Linked DNA regions of Homo sapiens: all the other regions are linked to region 5. The links are contacts of gene promoters, found by promoter capture Hi-C in blood cells and fetal thymus (Javierre and others, 2016). All regions are on one chromosome and are shown on one strand. Each heading gives the region's core, a stretch centred on a gene start or on the middle of the fragment in contact. The rest is flanking DNA. Distances are from core to core; before and after follow the strand shown. Region 1 overlaps RYK (receptor like tyrosine kinase). Region 2 overlaps RYK (receptor like tyrosine kinase). Region 3 overlaps UBA5 (ubiquitin like modifier activating enzyme 5). Region 4 overlaps NPHP3 (nephrocystin 3). Region 5 holds the start of TOPBP1 (DNA topoisomerase II binding protein 1). Region 6 overlaps NPHP3 (nephrocystin 3).

Evidence for each region. Contacts are between HindIII fragments. The CHiCAGO score rates a contact against its expected background, and 5 or more counts as called.
Region 1: a fragment that was not itself captured here is called in contact with the fragment with the promoter of TOPBP1 in region 5 in 1 of 17 cell types (megakaryocytes); the score reaches 5.5 in megakaryocytes.
Region 2: a contact is called between a fragment that was not itself captured here and the fragment with the promoter of TOPBP1 in region 5, in 1 of 17 cell types (M2 macrophages). The highest score is 5.2, in M2 macrophages.
Region 3: a fragment that was not itself captured here is called in contact with the fragment with the promoter of TOPBP1 in region 5 in 9 of 17 cell types (neutrophils, naive CD8 T cells, naive CD4 T cells and 6 more); the score reaches 7.7 in neutrophils.
Region 4: a fragment that was not itself captured here is called in contact with the fragment with the promoter of TOPBP1 in region 5 in 15 of 17 cell types (neutrophils, M2 macrophages, monocytes and 12 more); the score reaches 13.3 in neutrophils.
Region 6: a contact is called between a fragment that was not itself captured here and the fragment with the promoter of TOPBP1 in region 5, in 12 of 17 cell types (neutrophils, monocytes, naive CD8 T cells and 9 more). The highest score is 11.7, in neutrophils.

Annotation. Positions count from the first base shown.
Region 1 is chr3:134,213,777-134,217,950 of GRCh38, reverse strand. The region is part of intron 2 of RYK (receptor like tyrosine kinase); the gene reads left to right. Among named protein-coding and RNA genes, the nearest start is that of RYK, 35 kb to the left of the region's middle. The HindIII fragment of the contact is 5,038 bases long and covers 280-4,174 here.
Region 2 is chr3:134,177,106-134,181,780 of GRCh38, reverse strand. It overlaps RYK (receptor like tyrosine kinase), which reads left to right. Exons shown (of 15, transcript NM_002958.4): 11 at 3,708-3,840. Among named protein-coding and RNA genes, the nearest start is that of RYK, 71 kb to the left of the region's middle. The HindIII fragment of the contact is 2,754 bases long and covers 1-2,673 here.
Region 3 is chr3:132,666,877-132,671,566 of GRCh38, reverse strand. UBA5 (ubiquitin like modifier activating enzyme 5) reads right to left here. Exons shown (of 12, transcript NM_024818.6): 4 at 2,640-2,749; 5 at 1,283-1,369; 6 at 518-602. The region is part of intron 26 of NPHP3-ACAD11 (NPHP3-ACAD11 readthrough (NMD candidate)); the gene reads left to right. Among named protein-coding and RNA genes, the nearest start is that of UBA5, 8.9 kb to the right of the region's middle. The HindIII fragment of the contact is 5,684 bases long and covers 1-4,293 here.
Region 4 is chr3:132,684,850-132,688,235 of GRCh38, reverse strand. NPHP3 (nephrocystin 3) reads left to right here. Exons shown (of 27, transcript NM_153240.5): 22 at 1,010-1,085; 23 at 1,849-1,976. It overlaps NPHP3-ACAD11 (NPHP3-ACAD11 readthrough (NMD candidate)), which reads left to right. Exons shown (of 45, transcript NR_037804.1): 21 at 1,010-1,085; 22 at 1,849-1,976. Among named protein-coding and RNA genes, the nearest start is that of UBA5, 26 kb to the right of the region's middle. The HindIII fragment of the contact is 3,549 bases long and covers 145-3,386 here.
Region 5 is chr3:133,659,571-133,663,864 of GRCh38, reverse strand. TOPBP1 (DNA topoisomerase II binding protein 1) reads left to right here and starts at 1,924. Exons shown (of 28, transcript NM_007027.4): 1 at 1,924-2,096; 2 at 2,731-2,821. The coding sequence starts at 2,738. LOC124909487 reads right to left here and starts at 2,639. Exons shown (of 3, transcript XM_047449438.1): 1 at 2,519-2,639; 2 at 1,832-2,352; 3 at 527-966. The coding sequence starts at 2,639. The coding sequence ends at 817. It also overlaps a transcript of TF not described here. RefSeq lists an enhancer at 1,498-1,567 and a silencer at 1,968-2,137. The HindIII fragment of the contact is 9,162 bases long and covers 1,798-4,294 here.
Region 6 is chr3:132,699,669-132,703,927 of GRCh38, reverse strand. It overlaps NPHP3 (nephrocystin 3), which reads left to right. Exons shown (of 27, transcript NM_153240.5): 10 at 2,395-2,498; 11 at 3,480-3,594; 12 at 3,867-4,010. It overlaps NPHP3-ACAD11 (NPHP3-ACAD11 readthrough (NMD candidate)), which reads left to right. Exons shown (of 45, transcript NR_037804.1): 10 at 2,395-2,498; 11 at 3,480-3,594; 12 at 3,867-4,010. Among named protein-coding and RNA genes, the nearest start is that of NPHP3-AS1, 20 kb to the left of the region's middle. The HindIII fragment of the contact is 5,015 bases long and covers 1-3,919 here.

The DNA of each region.
Region 1 (4,174 bases), core at 1,549-4,048, 550 kb before region 5:
TCAGCCACTATTGCAGTTCCCAATTCTAGGTAATAATCTCTGGTGATTTTAGCACAGTTGATTACGTTTATTTATTTTAAAAATTAATCTTATGAGTAGATAATATATGCACATAGTAAAAATTTAAAAAGCATAAAGGGTATACAGTGAAAAATAAGTCCCTTGCACCTTCTAGTACCATCCCTGAGCAATCCAGCCACTTAGTTCCCCTTGCCTGAGTCAGCCACTGTTGCCTGATTATTGTCTTTCCTTTGGAAATAGTTCGTGTGTATATAAGCTTCCATGCATATATGTATATATACATCTTTCAACAGCTAACATACCACCTACTTTTCTGCAGTTTGCAGAGCACTGAACAATATCCTGGTCAAGGATCTCTGTCACTTGATACAGAGTTGTACTTTTTCCCCCTTCAAATGGCTGTATTACTTATTATTATATAGTTGTACTTTGGTTATTGATCAGTTCCTGTGAGGAAATTAAGACCCAGATTTGGAAAGGGATTTGCTTAAGGTAGGAGAAGTAGGGTTAGAGGAAGCAGAAGGTAGAGATGACCTGAAATGGGAAAGTCACACGTGAGGGCAGGGGAGGCTTGATGAAGGGTTTGTCACCTGATCATTTAACCCTGAGGTGTAATCATGAACTTTCAGAAGGAGGGCCGTGGCTCTCAAGCTCTAATACTTTATCAGAAACCCTCGGTTCTTGCTTTTTAAGGTTTGCCAGAAGATGAAATATTTGCTTCCAGAGATCTGCAGGCTCCCTGATATGTGTCGGTTCAACATCGTAGATACTTTAACATTAGTTTCACATATCACAGCTTCTGGTAATACTGTTTCTCAGTGTTTTCGCCATTTTGTCTTGCCACACAGATTGTGGTCTCTTCAGAGGCTTGAAGCTGTCTTACTCTTAGCGCATAGGTCACACATGCCTTAGTGAGTGGTCAGGAAAGACCATTGTGTTAATTGCATTTTGAGTTGGGAGTAGAACTCTGGTATTGCTTCTTTTTCACAAGACCACACACTTAAAAGCAGGCTACTGAGAGGCTTTAACAGATAGTTTCTTCTGTATTCCAGAACATTCCCCAATATCCAGGAGAAACATGTAACTGTGTCTGTTAAGTGTCAGTAGCTTTTTTTTTTTTTTTTTTTTTTTTTTTTTGAGACAGAGTCTCACTCTGTCGCCCAGGCTGGAGTGCAGTGGCGCTTTCTCTGCTCACTGCAACCTCCACCTCCTGGGTTCACACCATTCTCCTGCCTCAGCCTCCTGAATAGCTGGGTCAACAGGCGCCCGCTACCATGCCCAGCTAAGTTTTTTGTATTTTTAGTAGAGACAGGGTTTCACTGTGTTAGCCAGGATGGTCTCAATTTCCTCACATCGTGATCCACCCGCCTCAGCCTCCCAAAGTGCTGGCATTACAGGCATGAGCCACCGCGCCTGGCCGTCAGTAGCTATTTTAGATATCTGAAAAGCGAAAATTTGCCAGAATGTAGCAGAATATTCCCACTACCCACCCTTACCCCATGGCTGTTCTGTGCTTTCAGGAATTCGTCATCATTTTCTAGGAGTTGCAGGGAACTTGTCCAGAGTTCCAGCAGGCACTGCTGGAGGCCAGCAGCTGTGTCCTTTGCAGAGTGAGGTTTCTATGAGAAAGGCATTACTTCTAGTAAGTTCAGAGAAATTAAAAGGCTATTTGGCTGTAGACAAGTGTATTCACTTTAAATCTGTACTCTCTGTGTTCCAGAAGGAAATGGCTTTACTTACCAGCTTCCTATTTGTAATTGCCATTTGTTTCCAAGTAAGGGAACATAAGCAAAAATGTTTATTTTTCAGTTTATTCAAATGTTGATATTTTTGGTAATTTGTTTCTTTTTTTTTCCTTTCCTTTTATTTTCTTTTTCTTTTTCTTTTTTTTTTTGAGACTGAGTCTCACTCTGTCACCCACACTGGCGTGCAGTGGTGCGATCTTGGCTCACTACATCCTCCGCCCCCCAGGTTCAAGTGATTCTCCTGCCTTAGCCTCCGAGTAGCCGAGTAGCATGTGCCCACCACCATGCCCACCTAATTTTTGTATTTTTAGTAGAGACGGGGTTTTACCGTGTTGGCCAGGCTGGTCTTGAACTCCTGGCCTCAAGTGATCCACCTGCATTGACCTCCCAGAATGCTGGGATTACAGGTGTGAGCCACCACGCCTAGCCTGTAGTTTCTTTTCTGAAGTATTTTGGCTCACTCTACATTCTGATAAACAACTGCTGTTCAAATTTCTTTGTCCCAGTAGACTGTACATTTAACTTTTGAGCAGATCTGTTTCTTTAAAGGATGATTGGCAAGTGAGAGTCCTTACAGATCGATACATGCCAAACTAGAGAAAATTGGACTTCAATAATTGGCAATTTCTTCTCTAATCCCAGAAACTGCAGTTTTAAAATTTATATCTTAAAGACTGCAGAGGGAAAAGAGAACTACCTTGTGAATGCCTCCCATTTTTAGACAGTTCCTCAAAAAAGGAGCCAGCAAGGAGGCTTCCACAGTTTCATGCTTCATATTCCTCTAAGCTGCTGATAGGACCAAAGGGGCTGCCTTCTCAAATCTCCTCCTCAGCCCTTTGCACCTCTCCCTGTGCCCTCATTGGCCAGCTACACTCACAGCCTCATTTCCTTCCCTTCTCTCCTCCTTTTCACCTTGCCACACTGAGATGCTCAGGCGCCAGTCTTAGCTGCTTTTTTAACTGCAGTTATGGCCCTGGACCCCTTTGCCAGGCCCTCTCTGCTTACTTTGGGGTTCTGGTCTCTGGTCTGCTCCTTCTCTCCTTGTGATAACTGAGACCTAGAATAAAGGAGACAGCAAGTTTCTGGGGAAATAGTAAGTGTGGCTTTGAATTTGTTAAGTTGGAAGGCTGTAGGATAATTAGATAGAATTGCCTAGTAGGTAATTGGACACTTGAGAGGGATTGAAGGTAAAAGAGAGTGAGAGAAATTGACGATTAAGATATCCCATCAGTGGTGAAATGGGCTAGAACCCTAGTGTACTAGGATTGAAGGATTTACATTTGGAGAGGAAAATGGACCTTTCCTTGGGACTAGAATGAAAAGAATAGATGCTCTAATAGATCTGCCGGGGTGTTGAAAAGAAAGGCAGAAATGGGGTTCCTCTGTACTAGTGGAAAGGGACAAAAACATTGAGTGTGAGGAGGTGGGGAAGGCCTGTAAGGTTGGAATAAGACGAGGGAAAAGAGGGTCAGTGAGGAAGGGATTGCTGAGTAGAACTAAGGGCCTCCCCTGAGACTGGAGGTCATTGTTGTGTAAGAGCTCCTTTTCTGTAGGATGGATTTCCTTCAGCAGTGCTGAGCAGCAGGAGTAGAGTAAGAAGGGGTGGTCAGGATGCTAGAGCTGCCCTTTGAGGGTTTGGAAGGAGTCAACCAGCTGAAGGTGCCAATATGACTGTCAGTAATGTTGCCTTCTTTAGGGCTTGGGCTGTGGAGAACATGAAACTAGGTGTTCACGGCTATACTGGAGAGAAGGGAAGTGGCTTTAACTGGCTGCTGCATCCTGCTATGAACACAGCACCTGGCTCATAAATGTGCCTCATAAATGTTGGCTGACTTGGAGTGATGGAATCAGAGAACTAGTTTTGTAGGAATCAGAGGTGGTGATGGGATCTTTGATAGAATGGCATTTTTGCATTTGTTTTGGTAGTGAAGTAATTCTTTAGCGTGTCAGGATATTGAATACTGAATATTGAAGCCAGGGAGAACATGGCAGGAGACCAAGGCCTCTGCAAGTCCTGTGTGGCTTATTGGTGTTGATGGCATGAGAAGTAGCCATTATGAGTAGAAGCTGTGAGCTTCGGCCGGGCGCGGTGGCTCACACCTGTAATCTCAGCAATGTGGGAGGCCAAGACAGGTGGATCACTTGGGGCCAGGAGTTCGAGACCATCCTGGCCAACATGGTGAAATCTCGTCTCTACTAAAAATACAAAAATTAGCTGGGCATAGTGGCGTGTGCCTGTAGTCCCACCAGCTACTCGGGAGGCTGAGGCAGGAGAATCGCTTGAACCCAGGAGGTGGAGGTTGCAGCGAGCCGATATCACGCCACTGCACTCCAGCCTGGGTGACAGAGTGAGACTCGGTCTCAAAAAAAGAAGTTATAAACTTCAAAGTAGAGGGGATTTGCATGAG
Region 2 (4,675 bases), core at 47-2,546, 520 kb before region 5:
TGTGACAGTATCAACATTAGAGCAAATTTTTTTAAAGCACTATATAGAGTCAACATAATTTGTATGTCTACTGAAAATTTGATCACATATGTTTAAAAAAAGAACTGTGGTTATCTCTGTTGGAAGATGTTTATAGGCTTCTGAAAAAATATAGTTTCTGTATACTTTAGACAGTTCCTTGAGTTCTGCTGAAAAATAAGGTGACTACCCAGAGCCTTACTTTTAAATTTAGTTATATTTTGGTTCATATTCAGAAGGATTTGAGGACCTAAAAAGAAGGCAGCCACAGTAAGATAAATAAAATGGTAATGAAAAAGAAACTGAGTTTTTTGGCATTGTGGTGGTAAAAAAGAAAACAAATGAGCCAGCAGTAAGGAGAACAAATATTTTTACTGTGACTGAACATAAAACACCTCCTAGCTTCTCGGCAACCAAGGGTGAAGGAAACACTAAAAGTTGATAATCTCAGTAGCAGAAGGGAAAGAAACAGTTGGAATATTGTCCTTTTTGGCAGTGTTGAAAGTGCTTAATGGTCTATTACACTGACTCTAGGGAGAAGGGCCAAAGGTGTTTAATCCTAGTATATAATGTTAACCTATTACTTAGATACCTAGCCAATGTTCTTACCCCAGTGAAAGGTTTGCATCACTTCAGCACAGAAGTGAGTAGCAGGGATAAATGTAGACAAAGCCAGGATTTTCCCAAGAAACGGTTTTATATTCACTGTAGCCTTAAAGATGTCTTGGCTGAAAAATGCTCAGAGCAAGCATTTGCAGTGTTGTGTCTCATGCAGTTTTAGATTGTAAGGTTTTGCAGCATCCCATCAGGATGAATTAGCAGTCTCAGGAGGTCCTTAGGGAATTGAATGACATTACATACTAAATTGGGGTTATTTGATACTGAGCATTCAGTCCTTGAGGAAAGTCTTGTAAAGGTAGGTTATAGCTTGATTATGCTTAATTGTTCTTCCTTCTATGAGGTGATAGCAGGAGTCCTAGTTACAATGAATAAAACACATTGTCAGCATGTAGAAAGTATATTATTCTTTCCATTCATTGTAGCAGTTCATTTCATTTTTAAGGTGACCAGGGCCTATCACACATTTTGTTTTGATCCTTAATATGTATAGACTGTTCATAGCTATACTTATGTATTTGTTTGTTCATTCTTTTATTCTAATTCATTCAGTACCCATTTTGCACTTGGAACTGTGTTAGGCAGAATGAAAATGAAATGATCTTCAGAGATCGTATTATAGAATTTATCAAGCAACAGAATATAGAATTTATTCAGCAAGAAAAGACACCTGTTTTTAGATTTTACCTTGTGGTATGTAATACAGCATGTTTGCTTCATGTTTTAACATCCATGGTTACGGATTGTACGCGTATTGAAGTGTTTTAAAGCATTTTGAAATCCTTTCTTTTCACACATTTTTCCACTGGAATTTATGAAAATAATTTTATTAAAAGTTAAAATAGCTGTATACATAAAAGATATTAACCTATTTTAATTTCATTAGAAGTGCTTCACATCAAAGTACTCTTGCGCTATTTCTGCTTGTAGTTTGGCCCCTTCATTGGCCCAAAGATGCCTGATGGTGAACACTTCTTATGCCAAATGGCTCACAGCTCTCCCTCTGCAAACGCCCTCAACAAGACTGAGAATTAGAGGCAGTTCTTGTGCCAAGCCCCACAGAACCTACCCTTCCTGTACCTTCTTTCTTCACTATAGCATCTCCTGCTTTCATTCACTCTTCTTAGAGATCCAGACCTTCCCCTTCATCCTCCTTTTCATTACAAGATGGGCAGAATGAAAAACAGCCATTTGTACTTTGAAACATTTTCATGAAGTTTGTTAGCTCTACCAGTGGATTTTTAATCCTGTGGTAGTGGAATAAAAGATTTGACTTCACCCAGCAAACCTAATGGATAAAATGTCTTTAACTCTGCTAAATGAATTTCAGTCACAAAGAAAGAAACAGAAGTAATCTTTGGTGAGTTAAATAGATTGGGCAACAGTGTTTAATGGTATGCCCAAGTTAATCCTTAGTGTAAACCTGTAGTCATTTTAGTATTCATGGGAGTTGGTGGAAAGGAAGCTCTGTAATCTCCCATGTGATCTCCCTTGCTCCTCTGGAGAGAAAGTCTAGTGGTCCAGGGGAATGCAAAGGGTATTGAATCAGATGAAGATCTGATATTTTTCTCCGTGTACTTGCTCTTTGTCCTTGGCAGGTTACCTAAACTTTCTCTCCCAGCGTGGATTTCCTTGCATATAAAGTGGAACTCCTAATCGCTGCCACTTGAGCGGTTATAGAGAGGTTGCCTCTTAGAGGTTTACTGATCTTTAAGTCCTCATTTTCCCACCTCCTCAGGGTCAGTGCTTTCCATGTTAGTAACTCCTGCAAATATGAGGGGAGCGCACAGCTTTGCCACTTGTGCATTGGTGATTGTGCCACGGTTTTATAACTGGGGTTTAAAAAGTGATACATGCTCAATTAAGACAATTTTTAGGAAATACAGAAAACAAAGCTGAAATTATCTATAGTCTTACAACTTAAAGACAACTCTTAACTCTTTGCATATTTCCATGCAGACCTTTATTATTTTTCTCCATTTTTATAATTATCTTGCAAATGGGAATTTTTTATCTTACTTTCTTGTAAGATAAGCTTTTACTTATATTCTCATATTGTGACCAATTGTGACTTATTATCCTGTTATTCTTTCCTTATTAAACATCCTTAGAAGCAGGATTTGCCAAGTTAAGGAGTAGGAATGTTTTAAGGCTATTTGTTACTGTTATTTGTTATTAAATGTTTGTTTTATATAGCATAGATTACGAAGTGTTGGGTATAAAAATTGAGTTTACCTTAGTTTTTGTCTTCTAGCAATTTTTAGCTTAGTGGGGAAGATGATATAATTATGTAAAAAGTTACATAACCTTGGGAAAAATTAGCAGTTATTTCCAGATGTCAGTGGAGGAGGTGTTATTAGACAGTAGGATGAAATGTATGTATGTATGCCATAGAAATTAAAATAGGAACGGGATTGTCCACTACATGCTTGGTTTTATTTTGCACATCACAGCAACCTTTTATGGTTGGTGGGGTCCCTATGTTATAAGAATGGAAACCAAAGCCAAGAGAAGATGGTCACTCTGATAGTAATTGGTAAATCTAGGATTCAAAAATCTGATTCTAAATCCAGTGTGACCAGCTAAGAACTTTTTGGCTTTTGTGGCAGTTTCAGCCTTTTAGAGACCTTTTTTGATGATCATATTCTTGACCACCGTCTGGATTGGGCCTTTTTTTTTTTTCATGTGTGATAATGGAGTAAGTGGGATATTGTTATCATAATACACTCATGGGCAAGTCAGTTTTTAGATGTCTCTGATTAATTGCCCTTTGGAGTAAAGATATAGTGTGGTTAGAGTGTGCCTTCAGAGAATCCAGCCCACAGGAAGCAACTTTGAGTTTATGATTTTTCCCTACCAAGAATGTGCATATATGGGGATATATGCACATATATAGGGGACACTTAAGTCTGGTTTAAAATACAGAACACTTATAATTTTACATTTTTAATGGTAATCATGTTTTTAAGTATTTTGGGGATTTTGTTTTGTTTTAGATTATTTTTATTAGAAGTAAGCCCCTAACATTTTGGATTCCTTTGTCTTTCTCCCAATTTTTTATTATTTTATAGAAATCTTCTTCCTATTACTCATGTGTGTATAGAAGAAGGAGAAAAGCCCATGGTGATATTGCCTTACATGAATTGGGGGAATCTTAAATTGTTTTTACGACAGTGCAAGTTAGTAGAGGCCAATAATCCACAGGTGAGAAAAATTTGCCCAAATACCAATTATTTACCAGTAGTTTCTGATAATGTCTTTGAAAGTAGATATTAACATTCTTAAATATAAACTGTTTAGAGGCCTGCAAAAAAGAACCTCAAAATGAACCACAAGATATTTATAACCTGTTGGCTTAAAGGAAAATGTTGGCTTATGTTCCTGCCTTGAGGCTTACACTGTGCTGATGCTGAAGTTTTCCTTATATTCTCGTTGTGTACTTATTCATAATCAACTCAAACCCTTTGTAATGCCATCTTAGGTGTTTTCCTGATAACTGAGGGTACTTGTCCTAGATCTTCCTCTTAGGAATGGAAACAGACTTTCTAGAGCCATTTGGTTCATACTATACCAAAGTCTGGTGATGACTGGAGGTCTAGATTGTGGGAGATAATTGGATGTATTGTTAATATGCGTGGCTGTAAGATGGCAGTCATCTAAGAGTGTTTCTCTTCCCTGCTTGTGTTTATAACTGTAAAGCAAAGGTCAGATACCAAGCATATTATGATGGTAGTGGTAGTAAAGCCTAGTGGGTTTTTTTTGCTGTCAGCTGTATCTTGTTGTCCCATTAAGTTGCTTTAGGATTTATAATAGTATGCTTATTATAGTTGCCAGGAGAAAGTGGGTTCAAAGGCTGCATTCAGTATTTGGCCTAATATGTATCATATGCTTTGTAAATTGACAAGACTAAAGCTGGGATTCTCAATAAGTGGTTAGAGGCTGTGGCTCATCTGCATTACCTGGGGAAGGATTTTATTCCTCAGCCCCAAGTACTGTCATACACCTAGAAGAACACATCAGCAGAAAAAGCTAGGAGCTC
Region 3 (4,690 bases), core at 202-2,701, 990 kb after region 5:
TATTATTAAATTGAATCAAAGTTTATTGGATTTCTTGTCAAATTAATGTGAAATTTCACTTTTCTAAAATCATTGCAGGAACAAAAAAAATGCCAAAATATCATCTGAAAAGTTAAAAACAATATTCAAAAGGAAAATAATTTTTTTTTGAGAAACCAGGTTTTCAGGCAATTTATACATATTTATACATTTATAAAATAACAAAAGCTAAAACTAATGCTGACCAAGATTATAAGATACTAATTTAAGAATTATACATCAGAGGTATTTGCTGTTTTATAGTTTACCAGCAAAAAGAGTAGGATACTGTAACACATGTCACAGCAGCAAGGCTAGACAGTCTAGGTCCCACAGCTATTAGAATAGATTTTAAGAGTAGGCTAAGAGAACATTACAAATAAAACACAGAAAAGGGTTTACATTCAGAACTGTTTTTAGGATGGGGATTATATACTGATAGAATATACAGGAAAACAGATAAATCCATGAATATATCTTGCACAGCAGGAATACTCACTGTATTTATTGTCATTCGAGCTTCAAAATTGTCCACACAGCTAAGAACTAGATCAACAGGTTTTCCTTCTTCTAACCCACCATTACTAGTCAAAGAAAATAAGTTTGAAAAACATCAGGACACAAAATACACTCTAATACATTATACTTACTTGTTCAGTCCAACACTTATTCTTTCATTAAATGTTTGACTATAATTATTACATAATAAATATGTAATATTAAAGATATCATATATATCAAGTATTGAGTAACTTATGAATATAACATCAATGATACTACAGTATCATTGTAGTATTACTTATTTTACAAGAACTACAAGGGTGAAGGAAGTATAAAGTATGTTCACAACAGTTATTTTTTCACTACCAGCTTTCACATTTTTATTCATGCTTCATTACAAATGTAATAAAAGCTAATTGAATGCAACTCATTATTTCAGTGGTGGTCTGACAGTCTCTGAAGAAAACCATTTTCAGACAGAAATATAATCTAGAACACAGAACTTAAAGTTGACATTCTCTTCTTATATTGTAACTTACAGGGGTTTTTTGCTTGTTTGCTTTTTATTTTTAATTGTTTTTGGACAATATATACCTTTAAATGATATTCTAATACATAAAAATTACACAAAAATTGCTGTACTAAAAAAATGGAAAAATATATATCAATCTTCCATTCATTGGATTAATCCATAGATTTTTCTAATAATTTTCTAATACTTGAGCTGGACATTATACAAAATATTCATAAATTAAAATTTTACCTTATTCTATCCATGAAATGTTGAAAGTTTTCCACTGTGGTTATATTATAGTTGTGTACTTCAAAAAGAACATCAGGATTAATGTTCCTAAGAAGGAAAAAGGGAATGATTATAAGCCTGTAATCCTAGCATTTCAAGAGGCTGTGGTGGGAGGATTACTTGAGTCCAGGAGTTCAAGGCTACAGCGAGCTATCATCGCACCCACTGCACCCCAACCTGGGGGACAGAGTGAGACCCTGTCTCTAAAAAAATGTTTTTAAAAAGACTACTACTAGTAGCTGTAGTAAGAAAAAACTGTGAGGAAAAGAGATGAAAGAGCTAAAGGGCATTTAACATACCTTAGAGAAGCGAATTCAAGCTATTCAAAGAAAACCCAAAGTCCTTTTCTGTCTCTTTTATCTCACACTTCAAGGACTAGGTTCATTTTTGTCATAAAGATTACAAAACTGTTCCCACCCCAATCAATCTAAGTGTTGGGAATTAAGACTTAACCATGTCCAGTAACTACCTACAACTCAGCCTCACTTCCTTACTCAGTTAACAAATTTGGGGCCACAAAGGAAATTCCTAAAGCAGGGATTGGTGAACTGTGGCCCATGGGCCAAATCTGGCCCACCACCTGTTTTTGTGCAGCCTTCAGACTAAGAATTTTTTTTCATTTTTAAGTGGTTGGGAAAAGAAATCAAAAGAACATTTATGACTATAAAAATTTTATCAGCCAGGAACAGTGACTCATGCCTGCAATGCTAGCACTTTGGGAGGGCTAGGTGGGCAGATGGCTTGAGTCCCAAGAGTTTGAGACCAGCCTGGGCAATGTGGCAAAACCCCATCTCTGCTAAAAATGCAAAACATTAGCCAGGCATGGTGGCACGTGCCTGTAGTCCTAGCTACTCAGGAGGCTGAGATGCGAAGATAGCTTGAGCCCGGGAGGCGGAGGTGCAGTGAGCCGAGATTGTGTCACTACACTCCAATCTGGGTGACAGAGTGAGACTGTCTCAAAAAAATTTTATTTTTTAATTAAAAAAATTAAAAATTGTATGAAATTCAAATTTCAGAGTCCAAAAATAGAATTTTCTTGGAGCACAGACATGCTCATTCATGTTTGTTTTGCCTACAGCTGCTATCAAACTGCAACTAACAGTTCCAACAGAATATCTGGCCCTCAAAGACTAAAATATTTATTATCTAACCTATACATAAAAAGTTTGCCAACCCATGTCCAACAGGTAAGAGAATTCTTTGTACAAGTGAAAACTGCATTTTATAGAGAAAAATTAAGATTCATTTATATTAACTCATATCAAATACATAAAGTAAGATTTCACTGAATATGGTACTTGATTGCTATTCCATTTACCTCAGAGTATGTTCTGCTGCTTGAACTTTACTTAATCCTGCTTGATGAGGTTGGAAGAAAAGTCTATTCATATTGGCTAGTTCCACCTTGTCATAATCAAAGAGTAGCAACTAAAATGAAAATAGTGGTATTCTGATGAAAAACATACCAAAAAACTAAACATATCAAAAAATAAATTAGAGAGCTTTACATTTAATTAGTTTAGCAGTTTGATAATAATATTAGCTAACTCTACAACACTAGGTGCCATATATTAATTCATTGAATGCTCATGTGAGGCATGTAGGTACTATTATCCTTATTTTTAAAATGAGGCAACTACAACACTTGTCCAAAGGCCACTCATCTAATATGAAGTGAAAATGGGATTCAAATTCAAGCATTCTCAATCCAGCATCTGCACCTCAACCACAATGCTGTGCTGCCTCTCTAAATAATTTACTCAGAAATTAAGATTAATTCCCTTTCATTCCATTTTTTAAATCTGTGGCAAAATCCTACTTCATTTCCATTTTTTTGCTAAAAGCCAGGAATCCATTGGATAAATGAAATCTTTAAATAAGATGAAAACAAGTGCTGTAACTTAAAATATAGTATAACCTGACTCCTTTTGTGTATATGACAAAATATATACCAGTGACATGGCTAAAACATTATTCCAAATAGAATTACAAACCAGTTAATTGTTGTTTCCTGCTATACACTTAAGCCTGTTTCAAAAAGCATTTGTCACACACACACACACACACACACACACACACACACACACTAAAATGGCCATTAGATCACATTTCTTATCAGTAAGAACAGGCTAGAGCCAAGGACTTCCTGTCCCTTCTTCATATGAAATTCTGTGACTCTTTAATACAATTCTCAGCACACTAAACAATAAAAACAAAAATGGGATTTTCTTTTCAATAAAAAACTAAAAAGAAAAAAAATTAACCTAACCCATAACACCTAGATAGCCCTTAATACTAGAAAAGATCTCACACTCTCCAAAATTTTCTAATCCTACGTAAGAGTCTCCAAAACATAGTTTCTTTAAGCTCATCAATATTTATTAGGTCAGGCCAAGTATTAAATGAGTTTCTGCCTCATAGCTTGTTTATACATAAGTTGCGGGAAACATTAAACTTGGGAACAGAAGGTCTGAGCTGTAACTCTGCCACTAATTAGCTCTGATTGTGGGTAAATCACTTTCACTTTTTAGGCCTGTATCTTCATCTCTAAAATAAAGCAGCGAATATAGATCTGGTGATCCAAGGCACCCCAGATACTTTAAAGAGATCCAAAGGCTTTCAGGGATAAGAAATGGACTCTGGGTTTCCTAACATCTTCTACTTTCCTATTTAACCTCATTAATTCACTTCGTATTTATCTGTTTTACAAATTAAAGAAAGACTTCCTGAAACTTACCTGTGTAGATTCTCAGTTTACAAACTTGAGGGCACACTGGAATCACTTGGAGAATTTTTAAAAATACAGATGTTTGTGCCTCATCCCCAGAGACACTTATTATGGGGTGCAGTCTGGACACCAGAATTTTTTAAAACTTCCCAGGTGATTCTAACTACAGCAATATATAACTACTGTTCTACCTCTTTGCTACTCAAAATGGCGTGGTCTAGCTGCATTAGCATCACCTGAAGCTTGTTAGAGATGCAAGAGCACTTCTCCAACTTTAATATGCAAATGAATCATTTGGGGATTGTGTTAAAATACACATTCTGATTCAGTATGTCTGAGGTAGGTATTGAGAGCTGATACTGATGTTACTACTTCAGGGACTAGACTTGGAGTAGAGCAAGGATCCAGTGGTTCTTACTGGTGTAATCCTAGCAACATCAGCATCAGGATCACCTGGGAGCTTGTTAGCAATGTCAATTATGAAGTCCACCTGACACCTATAAAAATCAAAACCACCAGAGTAGGATCTGTTAATCTGTGCTTTAATAAGGCTTCCAACTAATTGTGATAACATACTCAAACTTGAGAGCCACTAATCTCAATAATCTCTATTATCCCTGGTCAAGCAGTCAGGGTGCTTA
Region 4 (3,386 bases), core at 670-3,169, 980 kb after region 5:
ATACACATAGCCTGAAAGTAATTTTGTGTACTAGTTTTAATTTGTGCATAAAACACAGTTTTGACTGTGGCTTGAGTTGACCCATCACTTGAGGTCAGGTGCAGAATTTTCCACTTGTGGCATCATGACAGCACTCAAAAAGCTTCTGATTTTGGAGCATTTCAGAATTTGGGTTTTCAGATTAGGGATGTTCAACCTTTATGGGGCCAGCAAACCATTGCCCATAGGCCAAGTCCAGTTGTGTAAATAAGGTTTAAAGGGAACACAGCCAAATTTTTTTCATGTATATATTATCCATGGTTGCTTCTGTGCTTCAGTGGCGGAGTTCCTCACTTGGAACAGAAAGCACACGGCCCACAAAGCCTAAAATATTAACTCTCTAGCCCGTTATAGAAAAAGCCAATCTCTGGTATAATAAAAAGTCTTTCTTATCTATCAGGCACCCAATGAATGGCATCTCTTCCTCTATTAAAAATTATTTCTTTTGCTCTATCATAAGTGATACATAATGGAATTTTTTAACTTATAGAAGTATTGCTTCGTACAAATTTTGTGTGAATTTCACATTTAAACTTGACCAGAAATTAGCCTGTGCAGAAAAAGTTGTTAATTAAAAATTATTAGTGTGCTATAGAAAACTGAAATTTTGACTTTTCATTTAGTTAGGTTGCCCTTCAGAGACTTAGGATGAGTTAAATTAGTTAAAGATGATCAGATGTCAGCTACTTAAAGGACTAGACTTGCTTTGTTTTGTCAAAATTTTTTTAATTGAACAGAACTTTTTATTAGAAAAACATCCATGATAGACTAAGATATCTTAGTGTTTTGTCATATTTTGTTTTATGAAAGGGTTTTTAGAGATTCTTAATGTCATGACTATCATTTCTAGAAAAAATGCTGTATTTAATAGCCCAAAAAGACTTTACACTATGAAAAGAGTGCTTTCATTTCACTGAAGTATACTTTGAATATGTTTCTTTTGTTTGACTTACTGTAATTTTTTTTTAAGATATGAACAAGCTGAACATTTTAGGAAAAAATCCTTTAAAATTCATCAGAAAGCTATAAAGAAAAAAGGCAACTTGGTAAGGAGAGATTTCTTTTGTGTTGTGTTTTGAACGTAAGAGGAAAAGAGCATCATAAATGCATACACCCCACATGTTTAAGAGCTTTAGATTTTAAAATCTTCTAGTTTTTTAGAAGAGAACTACTTAACATTTTCTTATTTATGTGTTAAAATATCATATTACTGAGAAGTACAATTTAGACTTTAAAAAGTGGAACTCTAAATTCATTTGAAGGTTAGATTTTGAAAGACGGAATTTAAAGCTACCTCAGTTCTTTAAAGGGTTGGAAAAAGGAATAAAATAAATTTAGTTAACATTTTGTGTTATGTTCAAATGTGAAGAAAGCCTTCCCCTCAAATACACAATAAAAGTTATTTTAATTTTTTTAAGTTGCTGATAAAATCTAAATGTAGCATATTTCTTTAATTTAAAATGCTGTGTGCATTTTTATGGACCTGATGTTTATGTGTTTACCTATGGGGTTGATAAATATCTGCAAATTAATTATATTCTATTATTTCTTGAAGCACTTTGAGATATAGTTTACTTTCTAAAATATAATCATTTTCATGAAATAGTTTTTAATGAATTTTAGAATGTGTTGCCATGTGGAAATATTTGTATTTGTAATCATCAAGTTAATTTAGTGTGATGCTTAAAATAATAGTTATCTAGATTAAATGGGAAAAAAGGAAGATTTTTTAGGACCCTCATATATTGTTTCAGAATCAAGGATTGCACCTACTTAGTGATTGCTTTTCATTTTTCATGTTTGCTGCAGTACGGATTTGCCCTTTTACGTAGACGGGCTTTACAGTTAGAAGAGCTTACATTAGGTAAGGACACACCTGATAATGCTCGGACCCTCAATGAACTGGGTGTTCTCTACTATCTTCAAAATAACCTGGAGTGAGTACCATGGGGTTAATAATGAAAATAATTAACCATTTTCTCTTTGATGCAATGCTGTTTTACATTTTTGTCAAGTCTAAAGCTAGAAAAAAAATGATAAAAACCACGCAAAATTTCATGTATGATGTTATATAATGAGCATACACATACCTAAAGACCATGGCATTTTCTCTACTGTGTTTCTTTTCACACTCTTTTTTTTTTTTTTGAGACGGAGTCTCGCTCTGTTGCCCAGGCTGGAGTGCAGTGGTGTGATCTCGGCTCACTGCAACCTCCACCTCCCATTCAAGCTATTCTCCTGCCTCAGCCTCCTGAGTAACTGGGACTACAGGCGCATGCCACCACGCCCGACTAATTTTTTGCATTTTTAGTAGAGACAGGGTTTCACTGTGTTAGCCAGGATGGTCTCGATCTCCTGACCTCGTGATCTGCCCGCCTTGGCTTCCCAAAGTGCTAGGATTACAGGCGTGAGCCACCACGCCTGGCCCACATTGTTTCTTAACTGAAAAGTTATTCTGTAGCTTCCCTGGTGTATTTTATATATTTATGAAAAGTGAGTTTGTGTAGATATTGTGCATAAGATCTCACAGAAGCAGCAGCTTGGGACTAATGGTAAATAATGTAGACGGTTTCTAGTTTTGTCAGTTTATTTGGGCAAAAGGATTCAAAATGACATTTATATTTATATGTTATAAAAAGTATTTTTGGACTTCATATATCAGAAAAATATAACAAATTTGAAACTTTGGATGTCAGAAAAGTATAATAAATCTGTAGCCCACTTACAGAAACTTATATAAAAAATAATGATTTATTCTTTTGTTAAAAATTATTTAGTACTGGCTGGGCATGATAGCTCATGCCTGTAATCCCAGAGCTTTAGGAGGCTGAGGCATTAGGATCACTTGAAGCCAGGAATTCAAGACCAGCCTGGGCAACATAGTGAGACCCTGTCTCTACAAAAAAAATTAATAAATTAGCCAGACATGGTGGTACACACCTGTAGACCCAGCTACTTGAGAGGCTAAGGTGGGAGGATCACTTGAGCCTAGGAGTTCAAGGTTACACACACGCACACATACAAAAAAACAAAATAAAGAAATAAAAATTATTTAGTACTAACTCCAAAGGGAGGAAGAGTGAATACAAAAATCTTTTATTGGACCTAGGTCTAATAATTTTTAAAGTATAAAAGTTTGTTTTGGAAAATATCTATCAGTTTTTCTTTCAGAAGTGGAGAATTGAGGCAATCATCCACACATTTTAGGCCCTCAAACTGTCAGGAAAAGGGCAGGAAGAGATAGGGGTGGGGAAGAGGGGGAAAGTAAGATTTTGAGCTGAATCTCTTATTTTAACTAGAATCTAAGAATAAAGATGAGTCAGTTCTCCACTTAATTTAGGGGTCAG
Region 5 (4,294 bases), core at 675-3,174:
GCATTTTCTTCATCTTCATTAGCAGCATCTATGAATCTCCTTCTCTTGTGAGGTCTCTACTTGGCCCAGAAATGCCAGGAATGGGCTCCCTCCCCGGTGTGGAACTTCACACAGAGATGGGCAGACAGCACGTGCCCAGGAGCAGTGTGGTGTGTCAGGAAAGGCACGGGCAAGTGACACAGTCCCTGAACTTCACTTTCCCCATCTCCATAACATGAGACAATGATACCCATCTATTATAGGGTTGCTGAAAAGAGTAAACGGGAATAGTGTGAGCAGGAGTCCCATGTTAACTGTAAAGTGCCCTAGAAATATTAATTGTTATTACAGATTCAGGTCAGATTTGCACCTTAACAATTAACTGTGGTTTCTTTTTTTTCCCACCTCTAGTGATTTTTGTTTTTTTGCTTTTAAGGCTTTCTTCACCCTTCCCCCAGCAATAGGCCTTTACCTTTGAGCCCCAGTGTTAATTGATTCTGACTCATTTCTGGTAAAAAAAAAAAAAAAAAAAAATTAATGATATTTATTAAAGCACAGTAAGACAGATTTTATTCCGGACCATCAGGATAGGTATAGCAACCATGGCAATGGGATTCTGAATTAGGAGAGAGAGAGTGGGCTCAACTCTAAATACACCATGGGCAAGTGGGAATTTATAGCCAAGGAACAAAAAGCTTGGGGTCACTGGATAAAAAATTACTAAGAAGGAACTTCAGGAGTAAAGGGGTTTCTTGCTGAAAATAGGTCAAGGTGATCAGACATCACCTTGGATGGTAGAGGATGAGGAACCTGATCAGATATTGAGGGTAGAGGGTTCTAACTGGATTTTCCAAGGAAATGCACAGATAAACCTACGAGAAGGTTGAGGAGTCTGACTAAAGTTTGGCCAAGCAAAGAATCTTTGTCACCTTCCATCGGTGTATTCAAAAACTTAAGACTCAAGCTGCTCATTACTATCTTTAGGCTCTAAAAAGAAAAGAAAAACAAAAACAATCAAGGGACATGGCATTATACTTTTACATTAGTAAATCCAAAGTCATTTTCTCAATCTCAGCAGTGAATAATAAAATGATCCTCATTAGTATAGTGGCTAGATTTTATAAAATAAGAAAAAATTTTTTTAAAAAAGAATAAAATGAAAAGAAGCAACAACGAATCAGTTTTCCGCTGGTTATCACTAAGGTTTGCAGGCCCATCTTATCCCCTCTCCCTTTGCTCTCTGCCATCTGAATCTTAGGTTCAGTCCCAGAATCTCCCCAGTACTGAGGCAGATGCAGAGAAAGAGAACGGCGATGTCCACTGAAGGGGAGGAGGAGGGGAGACCATTGAAGATCTTGACAAAGATCCCTTTGCATTAGCTGTGTAATAAGTCATCCTTTCTTCCCTTGCCATCTTGTGGCTGTGTTAGGCGGTGATTCTATTCCTGCTGTGTTGGAGGGAAACCACCCAGTCCGTAGTCAGAAGACCTGGATGCAGTATTAATTCTACCACCTACTAGCCGTGTGCCCTTGAACCCATCATTTAACTTCCTCCGTTTTTACATCTACAAAATGGAACTACCACTATTTGCCTCACGGAATTGTTTTGGATAATACCTTTTCCCGTGCATGCCTGGTATAAGACAGGTGTAAAATAAATATCTATTGAGGAAATCCTTTCTTTCCCTGGCTTTTTTAACAGTAAAGGAGTATTCCTGGCCTGTGGTCCTACCTCTTGAACCGACGGCGCTGGGCCTACTCGCAGCGGAGACTAGGCCCGCCCAGCAAAGCCCTAAACCCAAAGGGTCCGGCCCAAGCTTTCCCTGAAGCCCCACCGCCCACAGACTGCTCACCTCCACGTTTGACATTTCCGCTCTTCTGCTGCAGCTGCCGATGGCGTCACTTCCACCGGAAAAGGCAAGCGCGGCCGCGCGGTTGGCGCGAAAGTCGGTTCCCGTTCTGGGCAATTTCCGGGTTCTCCAGCGTTTGCTTTGGGGTAGGGGCGGCGCCGAGTCGGGGGAGGGGGCTGTGCGCCGGGCTGGCGCCCGACCCCAGCCACCGCCCTGCGGCCAGCGCGTCCCCCGACTCGCCGCCCGGAGACCCCGAGGCTCCAACGAGGTAAGTGAGGCGCGGAGTGGGGACACAGCTCCTCCCCAGCCCCAACTGGGGTTCGCGATGCCTTCTGTGGCCTTCAGGACCCTCTTTTCCTGTCCTGGTAACTGGCCCTGGAGCCGGCGGGTGGGCCTTTGACGCCGAGAGGACGTGGCTTCCGTGATCCCAGAGCCAGGCCTTTTCCTGGAGATGGGAACCGGAGCATCTAGCCTTATGCAGGGCCAAGACCATGCTAACTGGCTTCCATGTTTATATTTAAAATCTGTTTACTGAGGGATGAACGTACCTCGCAGGCCGTGGGTATCCGCAGGGACAGATACACTCTGTGTATCCTTAAAACAAGTGCAATTGAATGTCCATTGGCCTAAAGGGCTTAGAGCCTTCATAGCAGGGCCTTCCTCAGTGTATTCAATTCGGGTTAATTTTGCTGTCTGATTTGCAAGGATTGGTGTTGTCATCTTTTACCTTGGCTTTGTCCAAGTTCCAGGATTTCTTAGAAATGCCGTTGACGAATTCACGGGCAGAGCCAGAATGTCTGTCTTTAGGCATTCTTGTCTGCACAGAAAAATAGGTAGGTTAAACATGCAACTTTTTATCTAATGTGGTTTTGTTCTTGTTAATGGTTCCTTTATTTTGACAGTTCAGAAATGTCCAGAAATGACAAAGAACCGTTTTTTGTGAAGTTTTTAAAGTCTTCAGACAATTCCAAATGTTTTTTTAAAGCTCTCGAGGTAAGAGTTGAAAACATCTTAATACCGTGAATTCATTTTCTTGTTTTTAAGTGTTTTTGATTTGTTGGGCTTTATGTCTTAGAAGTAGATATTTCACTTTCATAATAATTTTATAGTCTACATTAATACAGATATATCATTATCACATATTTTTGAATTGATCTAAGTACATCATTATGTATTTCGGGGGGCTGGAAGTCTATTATCACATTGCTGTTTAATATGGCTGACCTACAGTTCTTGGAAATTAAGTTGCTTTCATTTGTCTCCTAGCCAGAGTGGTCCTTTGCGTGCTGTAGAAATTTGAGTCAGTTGTGTACTGGTCATACTTGAAAATTTTTTGGTTAATTGTTAAAAATTATGTTTTATTATGTACAGTATAATAATTGGATGATAGTAGGGGTGATGTAGATCCTTGCTTCTCACAGAACCCAGCAGTATCAGCATGGCCTGGAAGTTTCTTCGAAATGCAGAATCTTGGCCTCCAACCCAGACTTAGAATCTGCATTTCTAACAAGATCTTCAGTGTGCATTAAAGTTTGAGAAGCATTTGTAGCAGATTTTTTTAAACTTCATTCATTCAGCAAGTATTTATTGAAGTGTTCATGATTTGATAGGCACTTCTCTAGTACTTGGGATTTATCAGTGATGAGAACAGGCAAAGATTTCTGTTCTTTCAGAGCTTACATTCTAGCAGGAGGACATAGACACTAATCAGACATGATAAATTAGGAAGAGAAAAAAGCAAAACACGTTAAGGGGTTCCAGAGGATGTTTCTTGGGGTGGGAAGAGAAGGGGGTTATAATCTTAAATAGGGTGTGATCAGGGTAGGCTTTATGAAGAAAAAGATATTGAGTAAACGTGAAGGAGGTGAGATAGCCTTGCAGATATCTGGAGAAGAATGTTGCAGGCAGAGAGAGCAACCTTATACAGCCCCTGGGAAAGTGCCTGTAGTCTCTATCCAAGTTTAGTGTACTGTTGTGTAGTGAGTGAGGGATGGGGGAAGAGTACTAAGGAATGCGTTAGAGAATAATGGTAAAGAGGTCATGTAGGGCCTTGTGGGCCATTTTTCTCTCAGTGGAGAGCCATTGGAGGGTTGATAATCAGAAGAGTAAACATGATCTGACTTACAGTTTTAAAGGGATTACTGTATTTAACATAAGGACCTCAAAATTGGTTCAGAACATTTCTGAGTGCTTACTGGGTGTCAGGATATAGTAGCAAACAAGATACATAGAAACTTCCAGGGGAGAGAGACAAAAACTATATATATATATATAAATACGTATTTTTAAATAGAATAGACTAGAAGGGTAGAGGAAGGGTATTTGAGAAAGCCTGATTAGGATGGGCATCTCTGGGGAGGTGACATTTAAGCAGACCTGATTGAAGTGGGGGATTAAGTCAGGTGAAAACCTGGAAAAAAAGTATTCTGTGCTGCAAGATCAAGAGCAGAGCCTCTAAATGAGGTT
Region 6 (4,259 bases), core at 163-2,662, 960 kb after region 5:
ACCAGGATTAGGATAGCTAGGAAACTTGATAAGGATAGTAAGGCTGAGGCCAGGTGCAGTGGCTCACGCATGTAATCTCAACACTTTGGGAGGCTGAGACAAGCAGATTGCTTTAAGCCCAGGAGTTTGAAACTAGCCTGAGCAACATGGCAAAACCTTGTTTTTACAAAAAATACAAAAGTTTACCAGGCATGGTGGTATGCACCTGTAATCCCAGCTACTTGGGAGGCTGAGGTGGGAGGATCAATTGAGCACAGGAGGTCAGGGCTGCAGTGAGCCATGACCACACCCCTGCCCTCCAGCCTGGGTAACAGAGCAAGACCCTGTCTTTAAAAAAAAAAAAAAAAAGAAAGAAAGAAAGAAAAGAAAAAAAAGAATAGTAAGTCTCTCTGTTCTTCCAATTCTTGAATCAAAATATTACATTCAGAAAACAAAGCATAGTAGTTCATGAAATAGGCAGATAAGTCCTTCTTTATCAGTCTTATCAACATCCTTAAATATCTAAACAAATTATCAGAACTTGAAATATACAATGAAATCTATGTGCAAGTTAAAAAAATATAATAGTTAAAAATTAATGTAAGAACTAATATTTTAAAGAATACTATAGTAGCTAATATTAACAGTTGTATTTTTACAGAACTTTTTGAATTTAGACTGTCCGTTAATGTCCTGGTTCCATCATTTACTAACTAGATTTCTTCAAGTTACTTGGCCACTCTAAACTTTGACTTTCTTGGCTGTAAAATGAGAATAACTAATAGTACCTACCTCATAGGTACTTGTTGCAAGGATTAAATCAGATAATGCACATAAAGTGCTTAGCACAGTACCTGGCCCATGATAAATGTTAGTCGTTATTTTATGAGAAGTATTGCTATTGTTATTTTATAAATAAAGAAACTGAGGTTCAGATTAGGGTTTGCCTAAGAGTACACAGTGAGTAGATTGCAGATCTGGGAGTTGAACCTCGTTCTTTTCTGGCTCCAGATCCTATGGTTTTTCTTTTATAGCCATGGGTCTTAACCTGGGAAGCATGGATCCTATAAATGGGCTTTCTGTGGGACCATGAACTAAGTTGTTAGGACTTATGAGGTAGTAAATCAAGACTTTCTTTTCTCCTTCAGAAGTATCATTTCTATTTGAATTATTTGAGTTCCTGGGGAATATATTCTTTAGAGATATAATTTTTCTGCTTGTTAATTAAATATAACAAGTAGAAAAATTGATTGAAAAACTATACCAAGTAATTCATTATAGTTGCTGGAGAATTGTGTTATTCTAAAGCAAGCCTAAAGCTGGCTGCAAACTACTTACTATACACTTTTTTAAATTCCTCATCAGCTATCATTTAGACCACTGGTACACTGAAGAAAAAGTCAAGTCTCAAGATAATTTTTGAAACTCCTTAATAAGTACTAAGATATTTTGGTTTTTGAGTGTGTCCTTTTTAGCTTTGAACCAGTTTTGAGTTTCTGGGGAAAACTTGGGAAATAGGAATTCTTGGACTTTACACTGAACTCACTTAGTTTCAAAAAGATCTCAGGCAGCCTAGGCTAACCTGATTGTCTTGAGCAGATTGGGAGACTCCAAGTCCCCAGACAAAACCTGCTGTTATTTGGACCTTTTCTCACCCCCAGAAACTGAGGTGATTCCCAGGACAGGTGTTTATTCCTCTGACCAGGAGATCTAGGTGGTCTGCTAGTACCTTCAAGGTCTTCTGCAGTATTTTCTGTGATTTGGGGGCTACAGTGAGCTCCCTGAAACATTCTGCAAACATTTGAGTGTTGCAAAACCCCACAGGGACCTGAAATGTTGTCCTTTACCCATTAATTTACAGCAATACTACATGTAGAAGAAATTGGGGCCCATTTTTTGTTTGTTTGTTTGTTTGTTTGTTTTGAGACGGAGTCTTGCTCTGTCGCCCAGGCTGGAGTGCGGTGGCACTGTCTCGGCTCACTGCAAGCTCCACCTCCCGGGTTCACGCCATTCTCTTGCCTCAGCCTCCTGAGTAGCTGGGACTACAGGCGCCCGCCACCACGCTCGGCTAATTTTGTTTTTGTATTTTTAGTAGAGACAGGATTTCACCGTGTTAGCCAGGATGTTCTCGATCTCCTGACCTCATGATCCACCCGCCTCAGCCTCCCAAAGTGCTGGGATTACAGGCGTGAGCCACCGCGCCCAGCCATTTGAGGCCCATTCTTAGTTTACTAGTTCAGTCATGTTTTTGCCAGCCATAAAAGTAGGCAATTATGAGGGTGCTGTCACTAAAAATAGATTTCATTTTCTCACACAGCTTTTCTCCAGTATTTTCAAAGAATAATCAGAAGTTGACTCTTCAGTAGTCTCAGAGGCATGTGCTTCCTTACAATGTAAATTCATTTTTTTTTCTAGTATTACCAACGCCTTAATGATCTAGTGGCAGCACCAGCCCCGATTCCACCTCTTCTCGTGTCTGGAGGACCAGGTTCTGGGAAGTCTCTTCTTTTATCAAAGTGGTATGATGCAGTGCAATTAAATTATTGTTGTCATTGTTTGAATTACTGAATCTATTCAACAAAATGTATTGCATGCCTGCCTTCCTGCGCGGCCTACACTAAACATTAACAAAGTAAAAAGGAATAAAACAATAGGTTCATGCCCTGAAATGCATAGAATTTGGATGTTAGAGAGAAGACACAGAATGAGAAAGGAATAGGAAGCATGAACATTTATGATTATGTATATAAATCACATAAGTAACAGCTATGGGAGTGCTTTGTAAGGAAGTGATCATATGTGATATGTCATATAACACATGTTATTAAGTGGATTGTAATGTGCCTTTATTTGTAATTATTGCCTTTATTTAAAAGTTTCATTGATACTTTAAATATTTGAAACGACAAAAGCATACTAGTTAGAGTGAAATACATTCTACAGAACATCAAAATTAAGGATAATCTTCACCATGAATGCAATCTAGTTCTTCAAATTATGGACTAAGGTTCATATAAGCTAATAAACTTTATTATTTCATTATGTTATTTAAAAACAAGCAGTAAAAATATTTTCTTTCTTTCATAATTATTTATATTGAAGGGTTAGCATATGTAGTTGTCTCCTTTTTATTACCCTTTTATTTAAAGTTATGTTTGGAAAATAATATTTTTGTATCTAACAAATTTTCCTCTAGTAGGAATTTTTAATTAAAAGTTAATGCTTGTTTTACTAATACCTTACCCTCATATGTAAAGTACTTTGGTTTCTGTTAATTAACATCTATTTGTAATTAAAATGAATCTACAATTTTTTAAAAGATTATTTAGAAGGATCTAAAAGTGGAGTAAAAACAGAAATCTCCATATTTATTTAAAAGTAACTGACCACCTGATTGCTCAGTTAGGCAACATTTGATGTTTACTGCATTGTGAATTCTTTTTTTATTGACAGTCAAGGAACTTTATCGGTTTTATAAAAGTTCTGTCTTTTTCTTTCAGGATTCAATTACAACAGAAGAATTCCCCCAACACACTGATTCTTTCCCATTTTGTGGGAAGGCCCATGTCAACCAGCTCAGAGTCCTCCTTGATTATTAAACGACTAACTCTAAAGGTATAGTATCCCATCTTTTGGAATTACAGAATTTTATTTAGATTCAGAAATTGTTGGGACTAATAAGTACCTACTGGTAAACCAATTTTCAGTATTATCCACCTGTTTTGGTTTTATATAAGGTTAAAAATAATATTCGATACAATCGGGTCCTCTTGGTGACTTGATTTTGGTTTATAAAAAAGTAAGAATAGAAATATTTCCCCCAGCTCTGTAACTACTTCAGTAACTACGTGTAACTACTTCAGTTTGTGTGTGTTCTTATCTTGTAGTTGATGCAGCACTCTTGGTCAGTCTCTGCTCTGACACTGGATCCTGCTAAGCTTCTGGAAGAATTTCCACGTTGGCTGGAAAAACTCTCTGCTCGTCATCAAGGCAGCATCATCATCGTTATTGATTCTATAGATCAAGTTCAGGTACCGTTTTCCATTTGTTACCTATTGATATGCTCAGAAAGAGATGTAAATTCAGTAATAGCTAGAGCAGGCATTTATATGTTTGTGAGAAGAAAATATGATGTTATTTTTTATATTTCTGCTTTATTTCTAGGGAGGTAACATGGATTAAAAAAATATATCGTATGCCCACAGACACTAATATCTTATTAAGAAAGACCAACTGAATTTACACAATTAACAAAGACTATTCGTTCTGACATATTTTTA